4 separate regions of the Homo sapiens genome follow, and regions 1, 2 and 3 are each linked to region 4. Evidence: promoter capture Hi-C in 16 types of primary human blood cells and fetal thymus (Javierre and others, 2016). All regions are on one chromosome and are shown on one strand. Each heading gives the region's core, a stretch centred on a gene start or on the middle of the fragment in contact. The rest is flanking DNA. Distances are from core to core; before and after follow the strand shown.

Evidence for each region. The method cuts DNA at HindIII sites, captures the fragments that hold promoters and counts their contacts. A CHiCAGO score of 5 or more calls a contact.
Region 1: a fragment that was not itself captured here is called in contact with the fragment with the promoter of PABIR1 in region 4 in 2 of 17 cell types (neutrophils and total B cells); the score reaches 9.6 in neutrophils.
Region 2: a fragment that was not itself captured here is called in contact with the fragment with the promoter of PABIR1 in region 4 in 2 of 17 cell types (naive B cells and neutrophils); the score reaches 6.5 in naive B cells.
Region 3: a fragment that was not itself captured here is called in contact with the fragment with the promoter of PABIR1 in region 4 in 1 of 17 cell types (activated CD4 T cells); the score reaches 5.7 in activated CD4 T cells.

The regions. Positions count from the first base shown.
Region 1 is chr9:68,496,967-68,499,666 of GRCh38, reverse strand. PGM5 (phosphoglucomutase 5) reads right to left here. Exons shown (of 11, transcript NM_021965.4): 10 at 306-440. It overlaps LOC124902174 (a long non-coding RNA gene), which reads left to right. Exons shown (of 2, transcript XR_007061565.1): 2 at 214-786. Among named protein-coding and RNA genes, the nearest start is that of TMEM252, 43 kb to the left of the region's middle. The HindIII fragment of the contact is 7,679 bases long and covers 1-2,700 here.
Region 2 is chr9:68,516,783-68,519,482 of GRCh38, reverse strand. The region is part of intron 10 of PGM5 (phosphoglucomutase 5); the gene reads right to left. Among named protein-coding and RNA genes, the nearest start is that of TMEM252, 23 kb to the left of the region's middle. The HindIII fragment of the contact is 5,042 bases long and covers 1-2,700 here.
Region 3 is chr9:69,198,380-69,201,079 of GRCh38, reverse strand. The region is part of intron 1 of TJP2 (tight junction protein 2); the gene reads right to left. Among named protein-coding and RNA genes, the nearest start is that of TJP2, 25 kb to the right of the region's middle. The HindIII fragment of the contact is 2,171 bases long and covers 298-2,468 here.
Region 4 is chr9:68,778,625-68,781,324 of GRCh38, reverse strand. PABIR1 (PP2A Aalpha (PPP2R1A) and B55A (PPP2R2A) interacting phosphatase regulator 1) reads right to left here and starts at 1,260. Exons shown (of 1, transcript NM_138333.5): 1 at 1-1,260. The coding sequence starts at 1,160. The coding sequence ends at 297. The region is part of intron 2 of PIP5K1B (phosphatidylinositol-4-phosphate 5-kinase type 1 beta); the gene reads right to left. RefSeq lists silencers at 1,000-1,239, 1,357-1,771 and an enhancer at 524-1,352. The HindIII fragment of the contact is 10,001 bases long and covers 1-2,700 here.

The DNA of each region.
Region 1 (2,700 bases), core at 63-2,562, 280 kb after region 4:
CTTGTCTATAAAAGGTGCTTTTTCTTTACCCCAATTAACAAACCACTCAACAGTCAAGAGAGGACAGTTGTTTGGGAAATGCTGGTCTAAACGGATTACAAATAGATGCGAGAGAGCAATTTTTCTGTTTCAAACACTGTAATGAACGAATTAAACTTGCTTGGAGTTGCCCTGAGCTTGTCCTCCAGCTGAAATTATCATGTACCTTTCCAGGAGGTAAAATAGCCCCACTAAAGGCCCATGGAGCTCTCTAAATTTGCCAGGAGCTGCGAGACACACTGCTGGGAGCACAGCTGTTTCTGTACCTGTGGCTCCTGGTCATGGCCGCTGGGATCCCTCTCGTAGCTCTCTGCGTACAGTCTGAGGGTGGCCCGCACACCACTGGAGGAACTGAGCCGGAAGATGAGCCGTGATGCATCCGAGAAAATGATCCTTAGGCCCTGAGACCAAGAACATCCAGAATGGAGCAGTGAGCAAATGAATACACAAGTAATAATCATTAATACCTGCCACAGAAATCAGCATGTTTTTATACCTCAACACAATCAGAATCAAGACCATTTATATTGGCTCTGGATACAGGGCATGTAATGAATGTGATGAACCTACTTAGAGTTACCCATTTGTCTCTTTATTCTATTTCCGTTGCTTTGTGGTTAATGTGGGGAAAGAGGAGCAAAGCTGTGAACAGATACTCAAGTTCTCTTGGGCTGGTGATATGGGAATCAGAAAGAAGTGGAAGTCACAGGGATGAAATGATATTCAATAAATATTCCTAGGGCCAAAGTTTGTCCCTTGTAAATCTGTGGATTAAGTGAAAGCAGGCAATTTGTCTATTACAGTAAGACGGATTGCCCACATTAAGGTTACCCCAGCATGAGGTTAGGCTGCAGGTTCCTCTGCTGGCAAGGGAATGCTCCAGTGAAGTGCCCAGGGCTGGAGCCTCAGCTAGGCTCTGGGGGTAGCCAAGTACACTGCCATCCTCTTGGCTCTGTCTTTTCTTCTGTCAATCGAGAAAAATGACAAGTCTCAATTATTTTAGGAGGTTTATTTGCCAAAGTTAAGGATGCACACCTAGGAGACAGGTCTATGCCTTTCTCCAAAGATGATTTTGAAGGCTCCAAATTTAAAGGGGAAAGGGCAGGATATTGAGAAGTACACAATTTTCATGTAAGAGGTGGGTAGGGAAAAACAGTCATTCATGCCTTTGTCTGGCTCAGTGAATCTGCATTTTTTTTTAACATAAGATGACACAGACAAATGAGGCAGAGGAAAATTGCAGGGAATCTGCATTTTATATAAGATAACAGACAAAACTGGGCCAGGGGAACAATCAGATATGCATTTGTGTCTGGTGGGCCAGGGGTGACTGCATCTATAAACTATCAATTTATATTGCCATGGTGAAATTTTAATAGAAACACCTTTAGTGTAAAGATCTAGCAGCTCACTGGGAATTCCCTTGTGGGCAAAATATGGGGGAGGCATGTAGCTTTTCATCTTGTAGCCATCTTATTTAGGAACCAAAAGGGGGAGGCATGTTTGCGTGACCCAGTTCCCAGCTTGAATTTTCCCTGTGGCTTAATGAGTTTGGGGGTCCCAAGATTGAATTTCCTTTCACACTTCTTACCTGACTTCTTTTTTGGCCTGACCACCAGAGTGGGGTGGGGCCAGAGCTGTGGCCACATCTACTAGTGCTGCCTAGGATTAATTCCTCATTGGCTCAGCACATCTCCATTCGCTATGTATCTCTTCTCAGTAGAGGCAGGGATATTGTAAAATTATGACCATAAGATGATACTGTGACTTCTGTTGAAGGAAATGTGTTCTCCTAAGACAACTGATAAGGTAACTCTTGTAAATAAGCATATTGGCAGGGGCCAGGGGAAGGAAGAGGAGGCAACAAAATAATATATCTGGTGATTTGTTATTTTGGAAAACTTCTATGTCTCAGGAGACATTGATATCAGGCATTCTCCCAAAGCAATTTATCCTTGAAATTTCTCTGGCCTCAAGTCCTGTTTAAGAATAAGCCATTAGTAAAAATATATATACCTGCTGCATATGTGACTGCAATTATTTACCCCCACCCCCATCTGGTGATATCTGCTGGGAGACACTATGGTTCCATCTGAGTGTCTTTATGCTTTTTTCAAGTTGTGTAGGCTTTTTTGTTTCAATCCCCAAATAAATAGCTTTAGTTTCTTTTGGAGTGGTTCAATGTCTGCCACAATTTGTGTAACCAAAGGGAGCTATCTCCCCTACTGGCAACCAATCACTCTGTAATACTGGCTTTGCAGACAGGATGATATTATCCAGGATTTATTCACTGGGCAAACATTTTAGTGTGGCCCTTATGGATTAGGCACTGTGCTAAATCCTGGGTATATGAATATAAAGACACAATAGTTGTCCTCCTTAAGCCTGGAGTAATTTTTTACAACGAACAGAAACTGTCTTCTTAACCACCTTATGCTGCTGGAGAAGTGAATAGTTACAAAATTCCAAATGGAGCAAGTGAAGCAATTACTGACTGTCTACAAATCACTGTATTTCAAGTTACGTTCAAACCTACAATAAATCCCCAAAAGTCTCACAATTATATTGATATTCACAGCCTTGTTTTTACAAACTCTTTTGAAGCTGTTACCTATGTTTAAGCCTACATTCCCGTTGTCACTACACGTGGGGCGCGTGAGC
Region 2 (2,700 bases), core at 94-2,593, 260 kb after region 4:
AGAAACTACAACATGAATCCTTGACCTATCAAAGTCTAGTATTTATCTATACCTTTATTTTCTTCCAATATATTCAAGGATCTTACCTTAACTACAATTATGCTCATGGTGTTTAGTTACTGTGGTTGTATAATTTAATTCTCCATATTAATTAATATACATATTTCAGCAATTATTAATATTTTATACAGCCAATGTTCATTTATACCAACTCCTATTTTTAACATTTCTTTTATTCCTTGCTGCATTTTATTCCAAATATCTATCTGGGATAATTTTCCTTCTTCCTGAAGAATATCCTTGAGAATTTCTTTTTGTGTAGATACTCTCTCAGCTTTTGTTTATCTGAAGATGTGTTTATTTCGCTTTCATTTTAGAAGGAAAGTTTCACTAGATTAAGAGTTCTAAGCCATCAGTCTCCTTATTTTTAGTGTTGATAAAGAAAAATTAGTTGTCAATCAAACTATTCTTTGCCTTTGATTTTCTGCAATTTTAGCCTGATGTGTCTAGATGTGAATTTATTTTTATATATCCTGCTTGGCTTTCTAGAATCAGTGGGCTGACCTCCTTCATTGGTTCTGGGAAATCTTCACCTATCATTTTTTCCAGTGTTGCCTATACCCAAGTTTCTGTCTCCTCTTTTGAGACTCCAACTAAATTATGTTAGCACTTCTCACTGTATCCTTTGTGTCTCTTACCCTCTATTCTGTATTTTTCCGAATATGATCTTTCATCTTCCAAAGGCAGCAATCTTATATTCTTTGTTCTGCAAATCATAAGGACTAAACTGAAAAATCAGATGCATAGTTTCTTCTGAAATATTTTAAGTTCACTGATATTCTTCAGCTGCTGTTAAATCCATTTATGTTCTTAATTTTGGTTATCTTTCTCAGCTCTTTAATTTCAACATCTTGGTGTATTTTTATAGTTTTCAGTTATTTGCTGATGTTTTTACATTCAGTGCTTTATTTCCATGAACATAGTGAAAATAACTATTTTACAGTGTGTATTGAATAAATTCCAGTATCTATAGATCTTTTTCTGTGGTATGTTGTTTCTGTTGATTCTGGTATGTGTTGCTTTGTGTATCCAAGTGCTTTATAATCTTTTATTGTTTGGTGCCCATTTTGTTTGAAAAATTGCTTATAGAAATAACTGGAGACCTAGAATATTGTTAGTTTCCTTCATTTCCTTTCATGAGACTCCTCAGGGAGCCAGAAGATCAGAGCCATGGATTTATAATCCTCTGGAGTACAGTCTGTATACCACCTTTGGAATGGTCTTCTTCAAGTTTACACCCTAGAGCAGGGATTGTTAAGCCAGGATCTCTGCCTTTGATGTGTACTTAACTAACCATATTTCTTTTGGCCACACGAAAATGCCACACAGGTCTGCCTCTTTGCTGCCTCTTTGGTTAGTCTCCTGGTTAGCAGAGGCAGACTGTAATAGACCAGATCCTCCTCCACCTGGACCTGATGCCGGTCACCTTTACCCTGTGCCAGTCATCAAAAGCACCTCTTCTTTAGTACCTCTCCTAGATGGACAAATTCCCTAGGACAGAAAGAGCTTTGGCTCATTTTCCTGAGTGCCAACCCTTTTCCTGTTCTTGTTACTGTTTTATTAGGTCATTGGTCAACCATGCTTTTAATAAGATGCTTTAATATATTTCTTTCAGCTCTTTACAGAGGGAAGGTTAGTTTGAATCACCTAGTCCACCACTACTAAAAGTTAGAAGTCCTTCATATGGGATTTGTGTTGTTTTGTAATCATTTTCCTGCCAATATTTAAAAATCAAATTTCATTTGAAAGTCCAGATATCTTGCTCCTTTTAAAATCAGAAAACCTGGCAACCTTGAGCTCACATATTAACAATGCAATAATTAAAGACAGCTGAGCATCACCAGAGTGCCCACCATGCTCTATTGTCTTAAATTGGCCCCAATCTAGGACTTACTGCCTGTGTTGGTGGGTGACTGAATTTGCTACCACTGAACAAGCAATAGTACACTAGAGGCAGTGAAATAATTTTAATATTAATAAGTATAAATTTTACCTGGATAGTTACATATCCAGGAATCTGGGGCATTCTAATTTAAATTTTCTCTTTTTCTGAAATAGAGATTTTTGTATTATGAGGGCCTTGAAGACTACTGCGGAGGGCTGGCAGATTTGCGTAAGAGCCCAGCAACCATTTGGGGAGTAAAGGTACTGCAGTCCTCCCCGTCCCCTATTATGCCTATGCCCTGAGATGCAAACTCTCAGCATGGACTCAACTGCTCATGACTACAACACAGAACTAGGCTAGGCGCAGTGGCTCAGGCCTGTAATCCCAGCATTTTGGTAGGCCGAGGCGGGCAGATCACCTGAAGTCGGGAATTTGAGGCCAGTCTGACCAATATGGAGAAACCCCGTCTCTATTTAAAAAAAAAAAAAAAGACAAAAAATTAGCCGGGCGTGGTGGTGCATGCCTGTAGTCCCGGCTTCTCAGGAAGCTGAGGCAGGAGAATTGTTTGAACCCAGGAGGCGGAGGTTGCAGTGAGCCGAGACCGCGCCATTGCACTCCAGCCTGGGCAACAAGAGCGAAACTCTGTCTCAAAACAAAAAACAAAAAACAAAACAAAACAAAAAAACAGAACTATATAAACATGAAATCCAGGAACTGTCTCCACTCAACCCAGCCCTCCTAGGAGCACACTAGAG
Region 3 (2,700 bases), core at 134-2,633, 420 kb before region 4:
CAATTACAATTCAGTGCAAGTACAAGAGCCCACCAAGAGGCTCATTCATTCGACATATACTCCCTGAGTACTTATGCCATGTCAGATGCTGCCAGGGGATATGTGCCAAACTCGTTTCCTCACAGGGAGGATTTTAGCAGAGAAAGCAGACAAGAGTCAATATATATCATCATCTCAGGTAGTAATAAGTGCCATGGGATGGCAGACTGGGAAGAATTAATCCTAGGAAAATCTGAACAGCTCTCCAGATTGCTGCGGGAACAGCAAATGCAAAGGCCCTGGGGTGGGAAACAAGCTTAGTACATTTAGGAAAGAGAAAAGGTGACATGGGCTGGAGCAGGGTGAGTGGTGGGGTTATAGCAACTACATAAAATGTGAAGCGAGGCCAGCCCCCATGGTGGCTCAAGCCTATAATCCCAGCACTTTAAGAGGCTGAAGTGGGAGCATCAGTTGAGCCCAGGAGTTCAAGACTGGGCTAGGCAACAAAGCAAGATCCTATCTCTACAAAAAGAAAAATGTTAAAATCTAGCCAGGTGCAGTGGCATGTGCCTATAGTCCTAGCTGCTCAGGACACTGAGGCAGGAGGATCACTTGAGCACAGGAGTTGGAGGCTACAGTGAGCTATGATCATGCCACCACACTCCAGCCTTGGCAATACAGTGAGATCCTGTGTCTAGAAAAAAAGGTGTAAAAAACCACAAAACAGTGTAATTGATGGCACAGGCGGGTTGTTAACTGAGGATGAGAGGCCTGGGGTGGAGGGAGGTATGTCCCAACCACAGGGAGGCTCCCTCTCCCACAGCTCCATGCTGAAGGATGACTAACTGGTCAGGTGGGTGGGCATTCTGCATAGAGGGAACAGCCCGTTCAGAGCCAGGAGGGGTAACCTGCAAGGGTGTTCAAGACATTGCGAGTACTCAGTGCGGCCGGGCAGTAAACTGTTTAATAACACACACAGGATTTCACGTTCTCAGCAGGGACAGACATGTCAAAACAGCTTAATCTATGGCTTGGGAGCCTTAAAATGCATATTCACCTCAGAAATGGGAGACAAGGTAAGTGTGAAAACTGGAGAGGAAGGAAGTCATTAACATTTGGCAGGGCACCACACCCAGTACTAAATATACAATTTTTCCCTGAATGCCCACAACCCTGTGAGTTAGCACCACCATCCCCATTTTACAAATAGGGAAGCTGAGGCCAGAGAGTGTACACAGCCCACCACTGTCAGAGATGGGATCCGAGCTGCTGCCTGACTCCAGACCCTCGTCTCCATGAACAATGTCATGCGTGCTTTCCACATGCTGAGTCCTTAATACATGTTACTGGATAGCTGGAAAGAAGGAAAGGAGGGAGAAAGGAAAGAAAGGAAGGAAAGACAAAGTAAGACAGAGGGAGCACTAAATGAAATCAGCCAGGTTCTCAGTAGCTCCAAACAGCAGATGTGAAACTTCGGGAGGACACCATCCAATAAATGGGCCAATGGTTTTCTGCATGATGTTTCCCTCTGGTGCGTGCGTACGTGCATGCGTGTGTGTGTGTGTATGTCTGAGACAGGATCTTGTTCTGTCGCCCAGGCTGGAGTGCAGTGGCACAATCAGGGCTCACTGCAGCCTCAACCTCCTGGGCTCAAGCGGTCCTCCTGCCTCAGCCCCGGAGTAGCTGGGACTTAAAGGCACATGCCACCACACCTGGCTAATTTTTTTTAATTTTAGTAGAGACAAGGTCTCGCTATGTTGCCCAGGCTGGTCTCGAACTCCTGAGACTCTTCCTGCCTTGGCTTCCCAAAGTGCTGGGATTACAGATGTGAGCCACCACGTTCAGCCCCCTCTGGTATTATGTTGTGTCTGCTATGTCATTTTACAAACGAACTCAAATCCTTAGAAAGGGATAGTGTAAAGAAACAGCTAGCTGGCCTAGGCTGGTAGGTAAACCTACCTCCAGATGAAAAGAGGACTTTTATAGTTCCCCACCTGCCCCCAGGAAATTGGTTTTAACTATTGTGAAGAATTTAGTCAAAATTCTGCTTACTGGACAAAACTTTGAAACAGCTGTCTAATAACAAAACAGGAAATGCTTTTTCCCAGAGAAGGCAGAAAATGAGTTCAACTCTTGTTCTTCCAAAAACGAATAATTTTTAACATTATAAACCAAGTCCTTTTGGCTTCAGGGCACTTACCTGTGGTCTATTCAAACTTAAACCCCTCTTGGTAGCAATAAACTAGTTGCCACCGCATCCAACAATACTTTCTGTAGCGTTTGTTTTACAAACAAAACCCTTTCATCGTTTATTCCACAAGTATTTCAGTTTCACATGTGATTTCACCAGCTCCTTACCCTCCCTTCACAATGCACTGAGTGCCGGCAGTGGATGATTAAATCTAGTGTATGCGATGTGCTCACAGCACACACTTCACAATGGACACAGCTTGCTTATGACCAAGTTTAACAGCAAAAAGCAATAAGCTTAGAGAGGGGTTTGTGATAGGTCACCAGAATCAACACAACTAGATCCCAGACCTACTACTGAAGAGTGCCAGGTTTACTGAGTTGTGTTTTTTAACCACATTCTCCTTTATTTACCTAAGGTAAATTTTTTAGCGTGCATTTAAATAGATAATAAAGAATTGAGAAAGGTGGCCGGGCATGGTGGCTCACGCCTGTAATCCCAGCACCTTGGGAGGCCAAGGCGGGCAGATG
Region 4 (2,700 bases), core at 11-2,510:
AGTTATTTAAAAAAATCAAGGGATAACATATGTATTTAGACATATTAGCAGCGTAAAGATGTATGCTTCAACACACTTATTGGGGAAACGTCTGAAAATATTACTACACTGAATTCAAGGGTATCCAAAGGAACCTGACATAGAAGTTCTCTAGAATAACATCATTTCAGGGAATTTCAAAAAAGAAAAGGGGTCAAATAGGAAATAGCCTCAAATTAATTGACAAAGTTCAGTGTTTGCCCCAACTAGATTATTCTCTCTCTCCACTGCAAAAAGAAAGTCTCAGGATGAGTGAATCACTTAGACGAAAGTTCATCTAGTGGAATAAATGGAGAAGCCGCTTGGGCAGGTGACACAGGAGAGTCGGTGGTAGTGCTGACTTTCGCTGGTGAGTTACAAGAAGATCCGGCACTGCTGCTGTTTCCATCAAGGGTATCCGAAGATACACACACACCAGGATCTGACAGCTGTGCAACGTCAGAAGAAAGCATGTTGGTGATGCCCTGGAAAAATCTCTTTGGCTGATATTCAGTTTCCATTTCACATTTTCTTTTCAATGGTCCAAGAACACTTGGTCTAATGCAATTGATGGGGCTCTGGCTTCTCCGGGTGGTAAATCGGGTCGTTGGGCTGGGAATAGGGCTTGGAGGCAATCCGTTGCTACTTACAAAACTTTGCAAGGATGGCGAAAAACACTGCTTCCCAATTCCCCGAGTGGGTGACGGTGCTGGTGACACAGGAATGAAATCGATGCGCTTGGGGGAGGCGGATTTCTCCACGTCGTTGTCACTCAGGCTGAAACTTTCCTCCCAGGAGTGGCTTATCTGCATTGCGGTCTGCACCTCCCGTTCGTGGACCGTCTCTCGGTTGATCAAGTCCATGCCCTCTTCTTGTTTGATCTGGTGCAAGCGGCTGCTGTGCATGCGGACAGGGGAGGCCGGCAGCAGCAGGCCGTGGCGGCTCGGGAACGTTGTGCTGTTCCGCCTGGCGCTCGGCGCCTCGGCCTGGAACACCGGCGAAGTGTCACTGAGGCCGTGGATCAGGGGGGCGCTGTTAGACCTCCTGAGGCCCCCGCCGCCGCCGCTGCCACCGCCCTCCGCCGGGCTCCCGCCCGTACCCGGAGGCAGCTCCAGGTCTAGCTCCATCTTCTCCTGAGCCATGTCGGGGGCAGGGAGGCGGGGGAGGTGCTCAGTCAGGGACCTAGGATTCCCATTCCCCGCAGTCCAGGGCCGCCGCCGCTGCCGCCGCCACCGAGAATCTGTCAGCGGGCTGGCCCCTCTGCGCATGCGTAGCCCTTCGCGCAGGCGCTCGCGATGTCCGTACTCGCGGCGCCTGCTTAATGCGTAATATGTGCGCGGCAGTGGTAGGGGAGGGGCGAGGAGTGGTCGGGCCGCTAGTCCGTATATTCCTTCGGCAAATAGCTATTGAGCGCAAGCTCGCGTTGACGCATGTCAATAAGATTGTCATATTCTGGATTGCATACTCATAAAACAAAGCCCTGAAAGAGAGGCCCATGGTGATGTGGGGCTGTATGACGTGGAGTGGCGCTTGGCCTAATCAGGGAGGGCTTCCTCGAGGAAGGAACAATCTCCTGAAATCTGAAGAAGTGGGCGAAATGGGTGCGATGTAGAACTTTGCAGGAAGCGGGAAGCAACGGCTACCCAGCCAGTTGGCAGGCGGGAACCAGGAGGGGAGGAGAAAGTGTGGCCTGGAGTGGAGAGTGAGGGCTGGCCTGACGTGAGGTGGTGGACCAGACCACATTCTGGTCTTTATCTTGAGAACAATGAAAACTTAAAGGGTTTTCAAGCATGGGTGTAACAGCAACTGAAAAGCTCACTGGCCTGCAGTCTGGAGAATACATATTGGGAGATTAAAACCTTACAGAAAAAAGGCCAGAGAGGATGGTCATTTGCACTAAGGTGACAGTGTGGCAGTGGAGATGGAGAGAAAAGTAAATCTGAGAACTATTTAGGTTAGGGGAAGAAGCCAAAACAGAGGATGGTATTGCTATTGATTTACAGTCATAGTTCCAGCACAAGCATATGTGTGAAGTATGAAGGATTAAACCAGTAGGTCCTCACATTTTAAAAATGAAACCACAATTCTTGGCTCATGTAATTAATATAAAACCTTGATATCTCATTAAAAGTGAGTTTATTTGTTCATTTATTCAGTCAGTCAAGGTTTTTTTTTTTCAGCATACTTACTATGTGCCAAACACTGCTAGGAAATGGGCCCTAGTATGAACTTTTAATTCTTACTGAGGGGAAAATAGAGAAACGCAGGCTATTTTCAGATAGTGGTAAGCCTTAGGAAAAGTAAGATGGTGTGATGGAGCACTACTGATAGAAGTCAGGGGACAATTAGAGTTGAGATCTAAATGACAAGAAGCAGTAAGTCACGTGGACATCTGGGGAATGAGTATTCCAAGCAGAGAGAATAGCAAGTGCTAAGGCCGGAGGCAGCCATGAGTTTGATGAGTTAGCAGAAAAAGAAAAAAGGGCAGTGCCGCTGAAGCATAAGAGCGGGAGTGTTAGGAGAGGGTAAGAGTTGGATCTCATTCTGAATATGATGAAACGCCACTGGAGGGTTTTAAGCAGGGGACTGATATTATCTGGTTTATGTTTTAAATATCACTTAGGCTCTGTGGAAAACAGGCTGAAAGAAGACCAGAGTGGAGGCAGAAGGATGAATTCAGGA